Linked DNA regions of Homo sapiens: all the other regions are linked to region 2. Evidence: promoter capture Hi-C in 16 types of primary human blood cells and fetal thymus (Javierre and others, 2016). All regions are on one chromosome and are shown on one strand. Each heading gives the region's core, a stretch centred on a gene start or on the middle of the fragment in contact. The rest is flanking DNA. Distances are from core to core; before and after follow the strand shown.

Region 1 (3,661 bases), core at 251-2,750, 480 kb after region 2:
AAGTTATAAACAGAAAAGGATCCGTTGCTTAGGAACTTTCAAACTGAAGATTTTCTAGACTCTAGCTTTATTTTTGTTTCCCTTTTTAGAAAGCAGAGATGAAACCCAAACCTGGAGGTGGGAAAGGGCTCTGCGGGCTTTTGCACCGTGCTGGAGAGGAGGTGCAGGAGAGAGAGAGAGGCAGAATTCTCTCGCCTTGCAGTTTTGCCCTGATATCTGCAGGGCTGCAACTGCACCTAGGCACGTATTTACAAATCTGTCTTCCCTTTAGAATCTCTTGTGGGTCTTTAGAAAAATGCAAATAGCTCGATCCCAAGTCCTAAGACTGTGACTCAGTTGGTGGGTGAGGAGCCTGGGAGTCTGTATTTTTGCAAAGCTTTCTTAGTCACTGCTTACAGAGGTTTGAGAATCTCTATAGTACAGTCATTCCACTTAAGTCAGTGGTGCCTGTCTTACTGCTGCACATCAGAATCATCTGGTGTGTGTTAAAAATGCTGTTGCCTGGATCCCAACCCTATACATTCCCATGTCATTGGTTTTCAGTGTGCCTAAGCATCTGGATTTTTCCCACCTTCCCAGGGGACAGCAATGTACAGCCACACTGAGACCATTGGCTTAAAGGCATTCAATCCTGATGAATCATCTCTCTTGCTATCAAAGCTTAAAATGAAGAAATGGTGGCAGTTTGAATAACTGAATCAGAGAATTCAGTACAATTCAAAGATCAGAAGAAAGGATTCAGTGAGAACTGTTACAGAGGGAGTGGACTGGGGCATCATCACCAAGGTAACACCATTAACAGCACTTTTTCTTTGAGACAGTCGGACTTTATCATTGAAAGGTTAGCCAGGATTGGGGAGTGTGGTGGGTGAATGGGAAACACCAACACTCTTTAAAAGACTTGCTGCTTCTTCAGGTTCATAAATTGGTCTGTGCCTTGATTATGAAATAAGGCCTTTGTTTCTGGAGGATAAGCAGTCTCAATGGGCCTCCAGGGCAGGTAGAAACCTTGGCAGAGTATGGTCTGAGGACTTCTTCATCTGAAGGCAGGACACTGTGCAGCCTAAGAGGCGGCCTTCACACAGACAGCAGAGATTATCGGCTGACTTGTTCATAGACTCCATACTTGTAATTGGACAGTGTATTTCTTTTCATTTAGAAATGGCACAGCAGATGGCAGTCCAACATAAAAAGAAGGAGAGGGATATGTCACCATCTTCAGCAGTGGCACATGGACAAGAGATAGCAGCGTCTGGGAACCACACGGCTACTGTGGAAGTGTCACTGTCCAATAGAACTTTCCAGGTTGGTAGAACTGCTCTACATCTGCACTGTCCAGTACAATGGCCACTAGACACAAGAGCACTCGAGCACTTGAAATGAGGTAATGAGAATGAATAACTGAAATTTTAATTTTATTCAATTTTAATTAAGTACAATTTAAATTTGAGTGGTCACATGAGGCTGGTGGCTTCTATATTGAACAAGCAGCTCTCAAGAACAAACCTTACAGGGTTAGTTTCTAGACACCTCCAAGCCTTGGTTCCCTCATCTGTATTTCTTGTGTGCTGGCACCAGAATTCCTGTTAGAGATGGAACTGTCCTTGTTTGAAAAAATATCTCAATAGGTAATTTGGCCATCAAAACCAAGCCTTCAGAGAAGGGTCTGGAGAAGAAATGCAGAACTCAAGAAGGACCAAGTCATTTTCTATAAGAAATTATATGGGAGAAATTATTCATTTGTTGTTGGCTCTGAGTGAGGAGGAGTAAGGGAATAAAGGGAAAGAAGAGCCAGTAAGAAAGTTTGGGGGCTACATGGAATGTTGGGGGTGGCAAAAGGACTCTTAGGAATAGGGAGAGCTAATATTAGTTTTCAGTTACTTGTATTACTGTTGTGAACCCATGCTGTTTTTCCAAACCTTGGGTCAAGTTTGCTGTAAACATAAATGTCTTGGTTGGGTGTGTGTGTGTGTGTGTGTGTGTGTGTGTGTGTGTGTGTGTGTATTAAGTAAAGGGAATAAGCCTAATGTTTAGACTACAATGGAATGGAAAAGGGAAAACATGGAGTGATTAGACAGTTAATAAGCTAAACAAATTCAGTAAAGCAGGAGCTAAGAGGCAGAGGAAACCATGATAAAGTAAGCCCTTAAGAAAGTTGTAGCTAACATTTGTTTTTCATAAAATGGGGGTTCACTTCAAACTCATATAAATCTCAAAAGCAAGGGTCAGTACAGCTAATACTTGTATGTAAACTGGAGACAGTAATACCTACTTGAAGGATCGTTGTGAAGATAAAATGAGATAATGCTTGTGAAGGGCTTATACATAGTAAGAGCTTAATAAAGCTTTAGTTTTATGGTTTTAAAATGAATATATGGCTGATCCTTGAACAACATGAGGGTTAGGGCACCAACCCCCACCTGCAGTCAAAATTTCATGTATAACTTTTGCCTCCCCCAAAACTTAACTACTAATAGCCTACTGTTGATTGGAAGCCTCACTGATAACATGAACTGTTGATTAACATATATTTTGTATGTTATACATATTACATACTGTATTCTTACAATAAAGTAAACTAGAGAAAAGAAAACTGTTAAAAATCATAAGGAAGAGAAAATATTTTTACTATTCATTAAGTGGAAGTGGATCATCACAAAGGTCTTCATCCTTGTCTTCACATTGAGTAAGCTGAGGAGGAAGAGGGAGAGGAGGGGTTGGTCTTGCTGTCTCAGGGGTGGCAGAGACAGAAGAAGATCCACAAATAAGTGGACCCTTGCAGTTCAAATCCATGTTGTTCAAGGGTCTATTGTAATACTCTTCCTTTTTTTTTTTTTGAAGATTAAGTAAAGTAACATGTGACGCTCCTGATTCACAGTGAGCATTCCCCAAATGCCATATTTTTTTCCTTCTTAGGAAGGGAATCTTCTTCTAGACCCTATTGGAGCTATATCATTTTACACTGTAAACCCAGACGGGCCCCAGAAAATTCTTGGGACATATGAGGTCTTTCCTTCTTCCCCTTCTCTGTATGGCATATGGGTATCACCTCTAGGAACAGTGAACTGACATGCAGCAGTACAGCACTTATATTAGCCTGCTGTTTATAATATCTAGGCTCGTCTTTCATCTTTATCCATAATCATGTCTCAGTTTTTTTTCTCTCTCTTATAACTCACATGGGCTTATTGCTCTACACTTATGAGCCCCACTTTTATAAATTTTAACCAATTTGGGGGTCTTGTTTACCCAATCATTTGTCCTTGTTTCTTCTGCCAGTGGCCTGTATTTCCATTTGTTGTCATTACTTCTGCTTTTCAAGTACCATGAATTGCCTATTCAGTACATTCTACCTTTGGCAAAAATACGTTATTTGCACCTTTTTTTTTTGCGTGTTTCTTATTTATTCTAGCCTATGTTTTGTTGTCAAGCCAGTACCTGAAGATCATTCTTGTACATAAGAATGAACCTATTCGTGAGAGTAGGATAGAAAAATTCCTAGAATTATAGGGCTTTGACTATAGCTTCTTAAAAAAGTTCAGAGTGTATGGGATACTCTAGTGGCCACAAGACAGATGTCTGATTTTCCTCATGGATAGCATGATTACTTAAAGTTTGAAGATTCAAATTAAAAGTGTTTTATTCATCCCTGATACTACCT
Region 2 (3,413 bases), core at 313-2,812:
TGAAGAGTTCAAAGTGTTTTGATGACAACCTTGAAGAGCTCATCTTATTACCTTATTCATGATACTCATCTGACATGTGAATCTGCCAATACGTGAGAAGATGAGAAAAGAGATTGATATAACAGCAGCAGAGCCCAATGGGGAAAAGCCCTGGTTTCCAGTTCTGGTTCTATACTTGTTAGCTGTATGACCTTGGTCGGGCAAGCTGCTTAACCTCTCCGACTCAGTTTCTTGACACTTCAAACATGGGGGAACTAATGGTCTCCATCCACAGGCTTGTGGATGTTCAATCAGATAACATATGTGTTTAGGACAAGGTCTGACACTATTAATTACGAGCAGCTCAATGGTCTAACTAGTTACCCAAGAATACTGAATCCATGGGGATACCTTCAACTGTAAAATAGAAGTCCCAACTAAACATGGCTTGCACCAATAAGAACATCTATTACAATGTAAAGCAAGATTCTGCAGCAAGAATCTCCCCCCTCCCTACTTCTCACATTTCATTGGCCAGAATTAAGGCATATGCCTATAAAACCATGAATCAAGCTTCCAATCAAGATAAACCTCCTCTTTCTCTGTATCCTTTTTCATTTCATTTCTCACACTGGGCCACTGTGTGTCAGAGGACTATCACAATAAGCCTCAGTAGATTGGCTGGTGCCGGGCAACCTTAGCTGAGCTCATTCATATACGTGTGGATTGGGTAATATACATGAGGCTCCACCGAGTAGCTCTGCTTCAAGCTATAGATCTGCAGGTTGACGAGGTAGCTTTTTCACCTGTTTCTCATTCGCCTTGGACCACCAGGCTAGGTGGTGCAAGGTCTTCTCATGTCCATGATAGAGGGTCAGGTGTGTTAAGACCTAGGCTTGGAACTGGAACACTGCAACTTTTCTGCCCTTAAACCATTGATCAAACAAGTCACACGGCCAAGTCCAAAGCCAAGGTGTGGGGTCATAGTGTCTGCCTACCATGAAGCCAAAGGGTGTGGACGTAGGAAGGACAGAAAGGGATCAGTCATTCATTCTAATGTAACACGTTGTCAGAACAAAGAATGTGTCAGTACCCAAATGGATCTGAATTCATATAGCATTCATGTTTCTGCCATGAATTTCTGCACTGGTTACTATATTGGGATGTCATCTGGGGTCCCATGTAAGTAAGCTGTTGCAAATGGGCCTGAGAGATTACTTGCCAAATGACAGGGTTGCCCAGGACTTAGTGACCTTCCAGCTCTAGCATCCCATTATTTGCAGTTTGTAGAAGAAAACCGGGAGAACGTGAAAACCCAAAGAGAAGTGAGGGATCATGTCTTAGGAACCTGCATCCTTCCATCCTGCTTCGACTTCTCAACTAAATTCTTAAGTCCTGGAGTGCAGGTATCACCGAAATTTGCCCCATGCCTGAAATACATGGTAGTAGATGGTGACTCTGACAAGCGTGAAGTGACCTGAATCTGGGGGAAGTTTCTGGGTGAACAGAGAGCGCGGAGGATGCGCGGGTCATGCTGGAGGCGGGTCCCAGCCAGATGTGCACAGCCCGCCCCGCCCTCCCTCGCTCACCCCGTCCAGCTTCATCCGCAGAGGAGCCTCGGCCAGGCTTGCCAGGGCGCCCCCAGCCCCTCCCCAGGCCGCGAGCGCCCCTGCCGCGGTGCCTGGCCTCCCCTCCCAGACTGCAGGGACAGCACCCGGTAACTGCGAGTGGAGCGGAGGACCCGAGCGGCTGAGGAGAGAGGAGGCGGCGGCTTAGCTGCTACGGGGTCCGGCCGGCGCCCTCCCGAGGGGGGCTCAGGAGGAGGAAGGAGGACCCGTGCGAGAATGCCTCTGCCCTGGAGCCTTGCGCTCCCGCTGCTGCTCTCCTGGGTGGCAGGTGGTTTCGGGAACGCGGCCAGGTGAGTGTCTGACTGGCGATTGGCTTCCCCCCACCCCCGGCCTGAGGTCCCGCTTTGGGGCCCCATGTCTTTGCAGGCACCCCCGCGTGTATGGGTGTGAGTGTGCACGTGTGCCTGTGCGCGCTGCGACGGGATTTAACCTGGATACCAGGCCGGGAGCGCCCACGGGCTTTCCTCCCTGCTCTCCTGTGGCGGGGCTTTGCACCTAGTTAGCTCCTTTTGCATCAGCTGTGCCCCACCTGGCTGCGTCCGGAGGGTTGCAGGAGGAGGGAGGCTCTGCACGCAGACCCGTGGGTGCGTGCGGGCTTGATGGTCTGCAGACCTGCTGTAGGGGCAGGTGTGTGAGGGTTGGTATGCGTGTCGGTGGGTGGGTTCTGTGTCTGTGCGGTTTTGTGTTTTCCACTCTATTCACAGGACACCAAGTGCTTGTCAGTCGCTAGTTTTGCTGGGGAAGGAGGGAAAGAAACCGAGGACGATAAAGCATTTACTGTTCTTGAGCTGAGCCAGCCGGGCTGCTCTCCTCACTGCTCTCTGATTAGGGTTGATGAACTGGAAAGAAAGGACACGGTTGTCAGATGACAACCATTCTCATTCTTGCTATGGCAATGCAGACTCTGAAGCCGTTCCCTACTGCCCTTAAGCTTAGCTGAGACCTGAAATATTTTTTCCAGAGATCGGCAAAGACGCTTAGTAAATGCACGCTTACATGGTGACTGTCGACCTGGCACTGTTCTAAGCACTTCAGGACTATTAACCTACCCAAAGCCATAATGGCTCTGTGTGTAAGGTACTATTATCATCATCTCCGTGTTGTAGAAGAGAAAAACGAGGCACAGAGAGGTAAAGTAATTTGCCTGAGGAAGCATAGCCAGTAAGAGATGGAGCCAGGGTGCAAACCTAGGTATTCTGGCCCAAAGTCTGTTCTTCACCAGGGCACTAGGGCAGCCTTCCGGCAACGGAAGAGGTTTTCTGGTTCTCTAACTGTGATGTCTTGCTTTCTACTTAGGTGTCCACTAGAATATGGTTTTTCCACCGCAGCATTATTGACCTTTCGGGCTGGGCTGGATAATTATTTGTTGGGGTGATGGGCTGCCCTGTGCATTGTAGGATGTTTAGCAGCACCTGTGGCCTCTACTCACTAGATACTAGTAGCAACCTTGACCCCACCCCACCCCCCACCACCACCACCACCACCAAGTTGTGGCAACAAAAAAAAGGTTTGGGATATTGCCCAAGGTCCCTGGAGGGCACAATTGCTCCTAGCGGAGACTGCTGAACTATAGAAATTTTTCAGTGATGATTCCTGAGGAGAGTAGGATAAGAGCTTTGGTTTGGTACAGGCTTCTCGAAGGTTTGCCTATCTTTGTTTGACTTACAGGAAAAAATATTTCATCAGAGTTAGCCATGGTATTAAAGGATTTCGAAGTTAAAACAGAACAAACCTCAAACCAGGTTCTTAGAATGTATGATCGCAAGTTTCAATTTCCTTTTCATGATAAAAATGTAAGCAGATGCA
Region 3 (3,532 bases), core at 339-2,838, 460 kb after region 2:
AACGTTCTCTCCTCCTGCATCTACTCCCCAAAATCTCTGAGGACCTAGTAACTCAAAAAACTGACTATAAAGCACCAAATCTTTTCAGGAAGCAAATATTTAAATACATTATGTTTTCAAAGATCTTTTCAATTCATCTGATATTTGATCAACTACATTCTTTTTTCACTTGTCCAGCTGTTCCGTGGCTGAATTTCCTCTTGTAGAGAAGTTGTTCAAAAAAAGTTCTGTACCTACTTTGCAAACTCTCCAATTTACACTCTAGCCTTAACTGTTCAAAACTTTCCCCCGTCATTCTCATCTCACCCTATCCTTTAAAAAAAAACCCAAAATGATTAATCACCATCTATAGAACAGTTTCAGAATGAACATTTCTCTCTGGAACTTTAGTTTGTATACTTCCCCAGCACAGCAATGAACACACAGAGGGGATTTATACACCTGTGAACTTGCTTTCAGTTATGCTTATTCCAAGTTACTAACCAGCAGTCTTTAAAAATATATGGTTTCTGTTCACATTGAAATTACAAAGAGACTGTTATTCCGATAAATTATGCTAGCAAAAATAGTATTTTTAAAGGGTAGCTCTCATCCTACAATTCATGGGGGCTGTGAGCATAAATAATCCTAGAAGTGTTGCGTTACTAATCTTTAGTCTAGATTTTTTAAGTAATATTGTTCTGATTTGAGATGAAGAACAGCTGAATACACAGCCTAGCCTGTCAAACGAGTTTAAAAACATCATTCCTGAAAAAAATAAAATTGTTCAGAACCATCTGATCTGTACTAAGGGAACATCAAGATTTCAGAGCTAAAATGCACTTCGTTGGCCACTGGTTCAATTACAGCTCATTACTGATAAGTGGGCAGAGACACAAGGCCCATAAACTGTAGGCGCCAGATGTCTCAAGATAACTCCCACCAAAAGCTGACCTCCTGCAGAGGTTAAAGTGCAAGAGAAAAGAAAGAAACCCGAATTTTTGAGCAGAGAGGGCAATATCCTAGACATCCTTCAAGTATGTGGCTGTCCTGGGCGATCTTCTATTCAGATACTGGACTGGATGGGCAAAATCCGAATTCACCTACAGACCTTAACACGGTGGTTCTCGGCACCCCAGAATCACCTGGGCAGCTTTAAAAACTACCGATGCCAGGGCCCCACTATTAGAGATTCTGATTTCATTGGTCCGGGATGGGGGCCCGGGGATCAGAATTCTTAAAGAGTCGTCCAGTGATTCGGAAGCACTGCAGAGCTGAGAGCCTCTGGGACTGGTCCCCTCTCACAATTAACCTGCAATGATTTAGGAATCTCATGGGCCTCCGGCCCCACCTTTTGTCGCGGGATTAAGATAATTATGAGAGCAACGTGACGTCCAAGACCTCGGCTCTCTGCGCATCAGAAGAAGCCAGGGCCCGGGGCGTCTAAGCTCCTCCCTCACTCCCCAAAGGAAACCCAGCCGTCCCCGAAGTCACCTCGTGGGCGCGCAGCTTGCGGATCCTGGGCGTTGGCCGCGCAGGGGCCTAGTTTTCCTTGGAGAGACAGAGGGGGAGTGGGGGACGCGAGGGAGGCGGCTGTTGCCGGGGCGACTGGAAGCGCGCTTCCGGTGCGGAACACGTGGCGTGGCGCGGCGCGCCGGAAGTCCCCCCCTGTGTCGCGGACGTCACGTTCGCACCGCAGGCGGTGCAGTGCTGGAGGCCGGAAGCTGCCTGCTAATCGGCTACCCCGAGTGGAGCGCCGGGGCGGCAGGCGTGGGATGGCTGCGGGTGGCGGGGCCGGCGGAGAGGGAGCTGCACCGGGCGGGGCACTGGGACTGTGGCGGGCACCCGCGCCGGGGGTCGGACGGTGCTTCTGCACCGGCGAGATAAGGGTCGCTTCTGCACCGCCCGGGTTTCCAGCCTTTAACTTTTTGTCCTTTCCTCAGCTTTCTTCGTTTTCCTTCCCTTGTCTTTACTTAGCCTTTTCTTTCTTCCTTTCTGTTTTCTTTCTTAACTAAAACAGTTTTAGTTTCTTAATTTGTCCCAGCGTAAAACACCCAGTCTTTGAAAATAGATTAACCCAGATCTCAGTTTGAGTGCGAGTCCAGTGCTAAGTTTGTAACTTCCCCAAGCCTCGTGTGTCTCATCTATAAGATATGCATAACCTAATGCAGAGTGCCTGATGCATTGCAGCAGACAAAACATTAGTACTAATATGTTTGTAATTATAACCATCACAGCAATACCTGCCCTGTTAACATTACAAGAGTCATTAACAAGAACCAAGCATAAACAATTAGAAGTCTTACGTGACATATCATTTCTGGGGCAATTACCATATTTAATACTTTCTGGGAATTTATTCCAAGGAAAAACAGGTACGAACCAGATAGATGTTTATTACAGAATTATTTTAAAAAGTGAAAATTGGAAAAGACCTAAATGCCCAACAAGGAAATGGCTAAGTCAATTGGGTGGTATTAATGACGTGACATTACTGTATTATTCCTGGACTACAGAAGAATTAAAATGGTATAGAAGAATATTAACTTTAACAAATATTTACTGGATGCCGGCTATGTGCCAAGTATTCTATGTTAGCGCTGTCCATTGTAACCACTACATGTGGCCCTGAGAACCTGAATTGTAGTAGTCTGAACTGAGATACACTGTAAGGGTAAATTACACTCTAGATTTTGAAGAAGAATGAGAAAAAGAATGTAAAATACCTCAATTTCTTTATAGTGATAACATCTTAGAGAAGGACTATTGAGGTTAAAGACTAAAATTTGATCTTTATCTTTTTACTTTATTAGTGTGGCTACTAGAACATTTAAAATTATATATGTGGCATGCATTGCATTTCTATTGTACCGTGGTATTCTATTTACCGGATACACAGTAGTAAACAATACAGTTTTGGGGCTCATAAAATTAAATCTTTTGTGTAGAACATAGACAATAAGCAGATAAATAGAATTGTATGTTGTGGTGAGTTATATGAAGACAGTATAGCAGGGTAAGGGCCAGAAAGTATGTGTATATAGAGGGGGATTATTTTAGAAAAGATTATTCCTCCACCTCAGAAAATGGATGTGGGAGGAAATGAGATATCTATGGATAGAAGCAGGAGATGGTAGGAGGGTGAAGTCTTATGGGAAAAGTCAGGTGTGGATTGAGACAGATAAGTCAGATGGGGCCTGGTGCAATCTCTACCTCAAGGAAGAAGCCAGCATCTAGAGAGGCAGGAAAGAAAGATGGAGAGGGGTAAGATAGGGAGAAAGAGCTTAGGGGGTTCCTGGGAAAGGCAGAAGGATGCAGGCCTAGAGTGGATATAGTTCAGGTAGAGTGATTCCTGGTTCTATGAATGAAAAAATACAATATATATGGTATACTATGGCATTAGATAGAATATTAGTTGGCTGCTGTCACAGAGACCCAGAAGAGGAGTGGCTCAAACTGTTGAGAAGTGTATTTCTATCTCATGGCAGTCTGGGTGTAAGGAGTCCAGAGTATGGCAGCTCCACCTGTCTCATAGCTCCACCCTCCCTGGTTT

The links. Contacts are between HindIII fragments. The CHiCAGO score rates a contact against its expected background, and 5 or more counts as called.
Region 1: a contact is called between a fragment that was not itself captured here and the fragment with the promoter of EGFL6 in region 2, in 1 of 17 cell types (activated CD4 T cells). The highest score is 5.9, in activated CD4 T cells.
Region 3: the fragment with the promoter of GEMIN8 here is called in contact with the fragment with the promoter of EGFL6 in region 2 in 7 of 17 cell types (neutrophils, total CD4 T cells, M0 macrophages and 4 more); the score reaches 11.4 in neutrophils.

What each region holds. Positions count from the first base shown.
Region 1 is chrX:14,050,431-14,054,091 of GRCh38, forward strand. No RefSeq gene overlaps it. Among named protein-coding and RNA genes, the nearest start is that of GEMIN8, 22 kb to the left of the region's middle. The HindIII fragment of the contact is 1,685 bases long and covers 659-2,343 here.
Region 2 is chrX:13,568,039-13,571,451 of GRCh38, forward strand. EGFL6 (EGF like domain multiple 6) reads left to right here and starts at 1,563. Exons shown (of 12, transcript NM_015507.4): 1 at 1,563-1,897. The coding sequence starts at 1,824. The HindIII fragment of the contact is 1,986 bases long and covers 551-2,536 here.
Region 3 is chrX:14,028,304-14,031,835 of GRCh38, forward strand. It overlaps GEMIN8 (gem nuclear organelle associated protein 8), which reads right to left and starts at 1,589. Exons shown (of 5, transcript NM_001042479.2): 1 at 1,474-1,589. RefSeq lists enhancers at 1,178-1,678, 1,679-2,179 and silencers at 1,556-1,755, 1,790-1,929. The HindIII fragment of the contact is 15,884 bases long and covers 1-3,532 here.